2 separate regions of the Homo sapiens genome follow, and region 2 is linked to region 1. Evidence: promoter capture Hi-C in 16 types of primary human blood cells and fetal thymus (Javierre and others, 2016). All regions are on one chromosome and are shown on one strand. The core of a region is centred on a gene start or on the middle of the fragment in contact, and the rest is flanking DNA. Distances in the headings are between cores, read along the strand shown.

Region 1 (5,445 bases), core at 2,654-5,153:
TCTTACCAGATGCACCCCCTTGACCTTGGGCTTCCAGGTTCAGGTATTCCATTATAAGCAACAGAAAATAGACTAAGCTCCCTAGGAACTCTCAGGTGAATTTCTCTGTTTTACTAGTTGCAACAACAACAAAAACAGCCATTTGGGGAGGGCTGACTCTGCCAAACACCTTGCTAAGTGCTTTAGATTCATTGTCCCATTGAAGCCTCAGAAGAATCCCAGGAGCTTGAGACCTCATAAAGAATAAATTATTAATAAATTAGATCATACCTTCCCATTTTGCAGATGAGATTTTTTAAATGCTCAGAGAGGTTAAGAAACTTGTCCAAAGTCACAGAGTAACCGAAACAAGACTTGAACCCCAACCCTAAGTGCTCACTCACCATACCAAACTCCCTAATATATGTATCCTATAACTGAGTCTCTGGTTTGGGGGTTTACATTTACAGGGAGCCATGTCAGTCCTGGAGGGCGTCTCCACCCCCACTCCCTGACTTCCAAGCTACACTGACCAGGGCAATCCTATTCTTAGGCCCCACGAACCCCAGAGAGGCCAGCCTGTTCAGCCCGAGTCTTTGGGCCTTCTCCATGAGGTACCCTCCCCTCCCCAAGAGACCTGACTCTGGGCAGGAAATGGACCCACTGCCCCCACTCCCCTCCCCCATTTCCCATTGTCCTCCTTCCTGAGAAGCTGGTGGAATTCAGAACTTTGACCCTTCCCTGTGGCCACAGCAGTGACTCAGGCTTTATGAGGGGCAGAGATGAAAGAGACTGAAGCCCCGGGAAGCCTGACCTGACTCCAGGACTGCTGGTGGCTATGACAGTGTCAGGGACAGGGTCCAAGGGGGACTGGAAGGTGGAGGGGTTAGGTAGAGCCCTGGTCATTTTCCCAGGCCAGGGCTTCCTGAGAGCAGTACACAGCCAGACACCAAAGGCTCTGGATTTTAGCCTCTCACTGAGGCCCCAGCCCACTCCCCTGTCCCCATTAGGGAGCTCCCTTTTTCCTCATGCAACCCCTGCCCTCCTCGCTGGGACTCTGCCCAAATGAAGTTTGACGCCCTCGCTGAGCACCTCCTAAGCCCCTGTCCACCTGCCTTCCACTCTCCGAGCTTCCTTGTCTCTGATGGTGCTTATAGTAAGTGGCAAAGCTTGAGCTCTAACTCATTCATTCATTCATTCAATTACTCACTCATTCAGTGCTAATTGTATCAAGGGATGTGCTAGGCCTTGGCTAGACTCAACCAGAACCAGAGCCAACTTTCTCATGAAAGGTGGCATATTAAGAAGCCAGGGGCCAAGGAATTAGACATAAAAACAGGGACATTTGGAAAGCGCCATAGGCATCAGGAAAGCGACAGGAGAGCAATGTTAAAGGAGGCGGCCGATCATGAGATCAGATATTGTCGATGACCTCCTACCAATCAGAATTTAACGTCTTTCTCAACCAGCCCAACCCCTGGACAACACCCCTGATAGCCAGTCATTCCACAAGCATGTGGTCATTGGCTTCTGCCTGCATACCTCCAGGGACAGGGAGGTCACCACTCGACAGTTCACCTGCCCCGTCCCTGAACAGTCATGAGTGCTAGAATGTCCTTCAGACTCTGCTGGAATGTGCCTGCCTATAGATGCCCCCTTTTGTCCTTGCTCTGAAGACATACCCCAATACAATGACCCAGGATGCCTCTCCTGGGCCAGCAGAAGGGGCCATTCCCAGAGCCCTTTCTTCTGCAGGGCCCCAGACCAGAAGTGGATTTGTTGGCAGCGTGACCTGTGACCTCCAAACAAGGCGTGTGGAGCTGGGAAGGGAGAGGCTGAGGAGGGGGCGGGGGGAGTGTGGGAAAGAGCCTTGTCTAACCCAACAAGTCCTGGATTCTCCCCACTTACCTGTGAGTCACCCCCAAACTAGGCCAAACCAGTCCACAGGCCCACATGCAGGCAAACACATGCTGTGTCACACAGACGCAGGCACAGACACACAGACAGATACCGACACAGACCCACAATCACACAGGCACAAAGATACACCTAGAAGCCTATAAAAACATACACAACCAGGGACACACACACAAATATACACTCACCCAAGAAATACAAACACGCACAGGCACTCAGAGCCACAACAGACACACAAATCACATACAGACAGAAACACAGGCACAGTGACACACACGTGCACACATTCACAATACACACACAGTCAATTCACAGCCCCAAGCTCTCTTCCCCTTGAAATTCACCTACCCCTGAACGTGGACACACACGCTTGGATGCACACGTATCTTACACATTCCCACTGGCAGTCCCAGCTATGTCTCACTTCTTCTCGACTCCCATATTTGCCAATCTTGGCCCAGAGAACCTTCTCCCAGGAAGGGGACATAGAAGGATGATGTTTCTGGAGGTCACCTGCCCCCCACTCTAAGTGAGCCCTAGCCTCCCACCTGAGTCTGTCATTATCCACCTGGGCCCAAAATACCCAGGTAGTGGCAGATAGAAACCACCTCCCCCCAGCTAACCCTACTTCTCTTTCCCGTCCCCCTCTCCAAGGTAGCCTCCTCCACCCCCCTTCCCTCTCTCTGCAGCCCTTGTCCCCCAGCCCCTGACTTCTGGGGCATCCAAGCAGGTCTCAGAGCCAGCCTGGGTCCTACATCTCCCTCTTCCTTGGCACGGAAGCAGTCACATTGACCCCTGCTTGGAGGACCCCAGCATTCCTGATTCTGCCTCTGCTACTACAATGCTGCCCAATCCACCGCCATAGGAGCCTAGAAAACCCTGGAGCCCACACAGCAACCTCACTCAACCCTCCACTCTCTGCACAGGGCCAAAGAGGTTTCTTCCAGGCAGGATGGAGCAGTGGTTAGAGCACAGGCACTGGAGTTATAGAAACCTAAGTTCAGATTCTAGCCCCTTCACTTTCTAGTTGACTTTGAGCAAGTGACTTTCAGAGCCTCCTAGAATTAGGTGACAGGGGTTGGGATCAGTCCCTACTCATGGGATGGTTGGGAAGATTAAATAAAATTATGCTTAGAAAACAAATTGCAAATGACAGCCACCCCATCATCCTTAAGCACCCTTCAAAACCCCACCCCAGGCTCATTTCCTCTTCAGGGTCATCCCTGGGAGGTTCCATGTTCATCCCTCCTTGATGAGCTTTGGGGGACATATCCTTCCACCTCTGCGCCCCCCAGGCAGATTTAGGAGAGTCATTTCAACACAAATAAAACTAGGCTTGGGAAACTCGACACCCACTCCTTTGGCTTCCAGCTCAGAGCCAGGTGGGGTAATTATTGCTGTCACTGAGACGTAATTAATAAGCATCCCTGCTATTTTGGCACCCCCAGTCTCTGGAGTTCAAAGTATATTCCTGTAGCCACCTCCTCCTTCCTCATTTTCAGCTACCAAATCCTCTCAACAACTCAAGGCCCAGAGAGGTTAAGCAACTCGCCTCAGGACACCCAGCACCTAGGCTGGGTGCCAATTCCCAGGCTGAGTCTGTGGCCTCCTGAACAGAACTGGGGAGTGGTGTATGCTGTGAAGAAGGCAACCCCCCTTCCTGCCCATCCTCTCCCTGACAGACTTTCCCCTTTCTCAGATGGACAGTGGGGGTGAGAAGCAGTGGGTTCCAGGAGGTAGCCTGTGGGCAAAGGGAGGGAGAGGAAGGCAGGGTTGGAGCAGGGAGGGAAGGCAGAGTCGGCTCAGGGTCCTGAATGAATGGGCCTAGAGCTGGAGAGGCCCAGGGAATAGGCAAAGTCTCAAGACAGGGCAGCCAGGCCAGTCTCCCCTCCCATCTCCACACACAGACCGACCTCTACTCACAGTCTGCGTGGGGACCCAGGTGTCCAGCCAGCCTGGAGCTCCTGCTGCTGGGCCGTGCTCCCCTGATGCGATTGGGCTCTCAGCTGGGGTTCCTGAGGCGGGGCCGTCCGGCACCCTGTGATGGGGCGTGGCCCCTGGGGAGGCTCCCACCAGCCCTCAGATTCCTCAGGGCCGCAGAGGTGTGGAGCTGGTTGGGCCGGTTCTTCACCCTCCTCCCCTGGTGCTTGCCTGTGCCCCAGCAGGGTGACAGTGATGTAGTAGCGGGTCCTCCTGGAAGAGGGACGCGTGTGTAGGGTCTGGGCAGGCTCTGGCAAGGCAGTCCCTGGGGTGGCGGGCTTGCCCTTTGTCCCCTCTGCCCTGGGGAAGGATGCAGGGTGGAGCAGCAGGGGTGCGTCTTCCAGGTTGCTGGGTGGCTCAGGCCTCAGAGGGACCTCTGAAGCTGTGGGTGGAGACTGCTGACAGGTGCAGCCTGAGGATCCCTGCTCCCCATGTCCAGGAGCAGGCCCTGGGTATTGGGGGAGCCTGGTACGAGCAGACTCTCCTGAGGCCACTTCCAGGGCCAGGCTCTCAGGCCCCAGGGAGGCATGGCTGGCCAGGTCGAAGGCGCTGCCCACCGCTGGCCTCTGTAGGCGCCCCAGGGACTGAGCAGGACCCCCCGAGATTCCTTGTTGCTTCCAAATCCAGAAATCATCATGGTCCCCTACATGGATGTCCCATTCTGAGCAGCTCTGGCCTTGGGCCTGGGTGAAAACAGAGATAGACACTGAGAGAGGCAGGGGCATAGTGACAGCTCCCCCTGCCCTCCAGGCACCCCTGGTACCTGGTATCTTCCCTGTCACAAGGAAGCTGAACAGGGCTCTGACACCAAGGTAAGCTGCCCTAGGGAGAGGCTGCTAAGGCCACCAGAGCTGGACAAAGGGACAGAGCTCTGGGAAGGCCCTTCAGCATTTAACTCACCCCTTCCCATTCTACGTAAGAGGAAAGTGGGGCCCAAAGAAGACGGCGACATGACTGAGATCACACAGCAAGCCAGCGAGGGCTCCCAACGCTCAGGTGCCGCACTCCCTCCCAGGTGACAAGGCACCCAGGGCCTGGCCGGCCATGCCCCCCAAAGGCTGGAGATCTCAGCTTCCTTGCAGTCCTGAGGTGCTTCCCCGCCCTGGGGCTGAGGGCTGGGTGGGAAGGCCTGCCTCAAGTGCCCATGGCCTCTGCCCATTCCAAGCTAACAGAGAGACTGCGGCCACCTCTCTTGTACCCTCCCAGCTTGAGACAGAACACCTGGGAGGATGTACCTGGGATATAAGGGAGCCAGAGAAGAGGGTTCCCCTGAAATGGGACAACACCTGACCTCTTCTGCTGTCTTCCCCTGGGGTCCAGCCTGGCTGTGGGGATAAGAGGAGAGGGCTCAGCACCCCAGACCCAGATGGACACTGCCCCCAAAACGACCCGTTTTAAAAGATGGGCTGTTTCCTTGGCAACAGAGGAGGTCAAAATTCCGCCTAGCAGGGATCCTTGCTGCCAAATGCCTTAATTTACTCATCTATGAAACAGATGCAGCCTCTCATTCCCCAGGGGCTGACCACCTCAAGAGACAAGAGTACAGTGATGAACCTGGAGGCTTGGATC
Region 2 (4,834 bases), core at 2,328-4,827, 270 kb before region 1:
AATTTAGTTTGACTCTGAAACAAAATTGATAATAGCCCTTTCCTGAAAAGACCCCCTTCTTCTGTTGGGACCAGTCTGCTTTTGTAGGACTAACAAATTAGCTACAAGATTAGAAATTATGGTTTAGGGGTCATGCAGCCTCTGACTCCAAGTCTGAACCTCCCCCAAATTGCTCCTGGGGACATCACTATTGTAAAACCTAAGATCAGTGCTTAAGATATTTTGCAGATCCCGCACTTGATGGATCAGCTGACACCACCCAGGCCAGTAATCTGACTCAACCAGTTCTGCGATCTTATCCAGGAACTGAGGACAGCAAGAAAACTTGACTTTGACCCCCTCTATGATTCCATCTCCAACCTGACCAATCAGCACTCCCCACTTCCGGAGCCCCTACTCACCAAATTATCTTTAAAAACTCCGATCCCCGAATGCTTGGGGAGACTGATATGAGTAACAATAAAACTCCAGCCTCCCACACAGCCGACTTTGCATGAATTATTCTTTCTCCATTGCAATTCCCCTGTCTTGATAAATTGTCTCTGCCTAGGCAGTGGGCAAGGTGAACCTGTTGGGCGGTTGCCTCTCTCTCCCATTCTCTATGCATACACACCAAGGTAAGACCATGTGAACACATAGCAAGAGGGTAGCTACCTACAAGGCAAGAGAAGAGAACTCAGAATAAAATCACCTAGATCTTGGACTTGCCAGCCTCCAGAACTGTGAGAAGTAAATTTCTGTTGTTTAAGCCACCCAAGCTGTGGGATTTTAGCAGACTCATGAGGCTTTGCACTCAGAGGGTTCAGGATTTGACTTCAGAGCGCTGACTGTTTAGCCCTTGTTCTTAACCTTTCCCTCTTTCTCCGGGACAAACACAGGCCCTGGCGCCCCCTGATTCCCGCCTGGCCCGTTTGCTGGGTGAGAGGCTCTTTTCACTGACAGTGAGGCCCTACGTGCCACTGGGAAGACTTGGAAACAGGACTGGGGGAAGCCTCTGGGGCAAACTCCAAGTCCAAGGATTCAGTGCTGGCCCAGATGTTCCTTTGTTTATACCCCTGGGAGACAGTCTTGGGGGCTCAGCTGCCCACCCCACCTGGCCTGCCGCTCCCCACCCCCACAGCTTGAACCTGGGGTTTGCCACACACACCCTCAGGGACTATCCAGATCATAAACAGTGAGCAGGAGGAAAACAAACTATATTTAAAACAGCAGTTGCTTCACAAACAAAGCTGGTGGGGGGAAAACACTAGAAACATGAAAAGACCAAATGTCAAAATCCATAATACGTTAAAATTTTAAGAATAAGCAAAAGATATAAAATGGCAATTCACAGAAGAATAAATGTCAATGTCCCCAAAAACAAAAGCGAAAAAAAGTGCTTATCCCCACTAATTTAAAAATATCACATTAAAACCACAATAAAATCTGATTTTTCTTTGATCCAATAGACAAAAGTATTAAAGATTAATAATATCCAAGCTCGGTGAGGGGTAGGGACATGGGCACTGGCACTGCTCTTGGCCCTGGGGGAGCAGGAGAGTGCAATCTGACAAAGAAAAATGTTAACAATACATACATGTGACTCAGCAATTATATTCTGAGGACTCTATCTTATCAAAAGACTAGAAAGATAACAGAAAGATATAATTAGATAGATAGATACAGATATGCAGATATAGAGAGCTATTTACACACCAGGACGTTTTTGCAATTTTGTTTGCAGTAGCAAAACCTTGGAAACAGCCCAAATGTCCATCAATGGGACAAATAAATAAATTGCCGTATAGTCACCTAGTGGAATATTATACAGAATTAGAATAAACAAATCTTGCCACACGTAACAACATGAGGGAAGCTCATAAATAGAATGTCAAGCAAAAGAGGACATCCTGTATAATTCTGTTTATATAAACTTTGAAAAAGGCAAAACGAATCTGAGCTGTCAGCATTCAGGATGGTGGTTATCCTTGAGGAGGCCAGAAGGAAGCATGGAGCCCCTGCGAGTGCTGGTGATGGCCTGTTTCTTGACCTGGGTGTGGGTGATGCAGGTATACTCACTCTGTGAAAATGCCTTGAATTGTACACTTAGGAATTGTGTACTTATTTTGTTTTTTTGAGACAGGGTTTCACTCTTGTCACCCAGGCTGGAATGCAGTGACGCAATCTCGGCTCACTGCAACCTCCACCTCCCAGGTTCAACCAATTCTCCCGCCTCAGCCTCCCGAGTAGCTGGACCTACAGGCTCATTTTTGTATTGCTTGGTAGAGATGGGGTTTCACCATGTTGGCCAGGCTGGTCTCAAACTCCTGACCTCAAGTGATCCACCCACCTCAGCCTCCCAAAGTGCTGGGATTGCAATGTGTACTTTTCTGAATGTATATTATACTTGAAGAAAAAGTTTACTAAACAATAACAACAACAAAAAGCATACCCCAATAAGCATTCCAAATGTCCATGCAGAAAAATAAATGCTTATATATATACATAAATATTCCTCCAATTTTAAAACAATGGACATTGAGCTTTCCATATTGAATACCAATATCAAAAGATGTCAGCAATATATTGTTAGGCACAAACAGAAAAACACACGCCTATTAAATATAATCTGATCCTATTCTTCTAAAAAATATTATACATGGGTATCTAAATAAACGTATGTAACAAATATGTGGTACAGGCATAGAAAATGGATGGAAAGAAATCTCCAAACTGTTAAAAACTAGGAGCCAGGGCTCCTTAATGAGGCCCTCTAAAGGCTCCTTAATAAGCCCATTTAACGAGGCCCAGCAGGAAACTTGAGCTACAGCTGAGCAGAACTGGGCCCTCACCTCTGTCAGAGCTGGGCCCTGGCACAGCCCTGGGTAGGCCAGGGGCCACTTAGGATCAGAGTTTCTGGAAGCACCATGCAAGGCGAGCCCTGGGGGCCCTGGAACAGCCAGGTCAAGGCCGGGGGAATGGACCCTGAGAGGTAGGATGAAGACAGGAGAATTAGCCCTGGCCTCATGGGCCCCAGTGGTGTTGGGGGAAGTGGGGGGAAGACAGCCCTATCTGGACACCCCAATTAATCATCAAAACCCTCAGGACACCAAGGTCATACTGTTAGTAGGTGGAACAGCCAGGCCTTGATCCCAAATCTGTTTGAATCTCAAGTTAGAGGCTCTGTACTGGGCTGGGGAGGGTGTGGTAAAGACAGTAGAAAGGAGCATGGTGCCCTGTACAAAGACCCAGAACCCCACGGCAGGAATCACAGAAGTGGCTTTGGCCCAGTGCCCGCAGCTAAGCCACCCTCTGTGGTCAGAACTCAACCACTAAATCTGGCTCCAAGAGCCGCTCCGTTAACTCAGCACTGACCTCCACCTCCAGCTTCCAGCAGCCTGGAGGCTGGCCCCATCCAAAATAGATCCCAGGAGCGAGAGCCAGGTCTATCTACTGTGCCTCTGTACACAACCACCCCCAATCCCCCTATTCACTCACCACCCTACTTTCCCCAGCCCCCTTCACCCACCCCGCCCCTGTGTTCTGAGTCACTCAGGACATGATGGCTATTAAGGAGATGGAAAGAGTAGGGGCAGAGGAGCAGGGGTGGCTGGAACAGCCTGGGTCCCAGGTTCAAGTCCCCAGAGTTGAGCCAGATGTGGCCTGGCTGATTGTCCTAAGCAACTTAGAACAAACAAATTTATCAGGTGTGGGACAGCAGTCAGCAGTTGGGAGCCTACTGTGTACTGGGTTTATTCAGTCTGTACAACTGTCGGTATTAATGTCTCTGTTTTACAGATAAACTGAGTTCAGAGGTGAAGTAACTTGTCCAAGGTCACCTACAGCTTGGACCACTGAACCAAGGAAAACGTAGATTTTGAGCACAGTCCTGCTACTTACTAGGAGGAAAGCCGTGTGGCTTGGGCAAGTTACTTTACCTCTGTGAGCCTCAGTTTCCTTATCTATAAAGATGATGTTAAATTAATATTTAACTTATAAAATTGTGAGGATTCAAAAAGATAACGTTAATCTGAGTGCTGTGGCACACACCTGTAATTCAAGCTGCTCAGGGGGCTGAAGCGGGAGGATCGCTTGAGCCCAGGAGTTTGAGGCTGTAGTGAGCTGTCATTGCACCACTGCACTCCAGCCTGGGCAACACAGCAAGACCCCATCTTTAAAAAAAAAAACAAAAAGGTAATGTTAAAAGTCTTAGCATAGTATCTGGCACATAGAATGTCCTTAGAAAATGTTTGTTTTACTTTTTTTTGAGACAGGCTCTCTCTCTCTCTCTCTCTCTCTCTCTCTCTCTCTCTCTCTCTGTCTCTGTTGTCCAGGCTGAAGTGCAGTGATGCAGTCACAGCTCACTGCAGCCTCAACCTCCCGGGCTCAAGTGATCCTCCTGCCTCAGCCTCTGAGTAGCTGGGACTACAGGCATGTGCCACCACACCCGGGTAATTCTTTTTATTTTTTTTTGTAGAGACAGGGTCTCTCTATGTAACCAGGCTGGTCTCGAACTCTTGCCCTCAAGCAATCCTCCTACCTTGTCCTCCCAGTCTTAGCAAATGTTATTATGATTAATTTAATTATCTGACCAATGAGAGAGTTTACTCCCTCAGAGCAGTGGGGTTAGGGAAAGTTTTTAACCTTCCTAGATCAATCCAGGATGTCTTCCTGAAAGAAGCAGCATTTCTGTCCCATTTTAACCTGAGACCATGAATTCCCTAGGTATATAAGGTTGTGATGGGGTAAGCATGGGGAGTATTTGGTAGAAGAGGGCACACCTTGGATAGGGAGAATTGCCTCAGTCTGGGTGTGGGGGGTCAGGCCAGGTCTAAACACAGGCAGGACTCCAGAT

Evidence for each region. The method cuts DNA at HindIII sites, captures the fragments that hold promoters and counts their contacts. A CHiCAGO score of 5 or more calls a contact.
Region 2: a fragment that was not itself captured here is called in contact with the fragment with the promoter of CRYBG2 in region 1 in 1 of 17 cell types (M0 macrophages); the score reaches 5.2 in M0 macrophages.

The regions. Positions count from the first base shown.
Region 1 is chr1:26,350,227-26,355,671 of GRCh38, forward strand. CRYBG2 (crystallin beta-gamma domain containing 2) reads right to left here and starts at 3,904. Exons shown (of 20, transcript NM_001039775.4): 1 at 3,810-3,904. RefSeq lists a silencer at 1,205-1,403. The HindIII fragment of the contact is 7,544 bases long and covers 1,147-5,445 here.
Region 2 is chr1:26,078,450-26,083,283 of GRCh38, forward strand. No RefSeq gene overlaps it. Among named protein-coding and RNA genes, the nearest start is that of TRIM63, 13 kb to the left of the region's middle. RefSeq lists a silencer at 767-943. The HindIII fragment of the contact is 7,537 bases long and covers 1-4,834 here.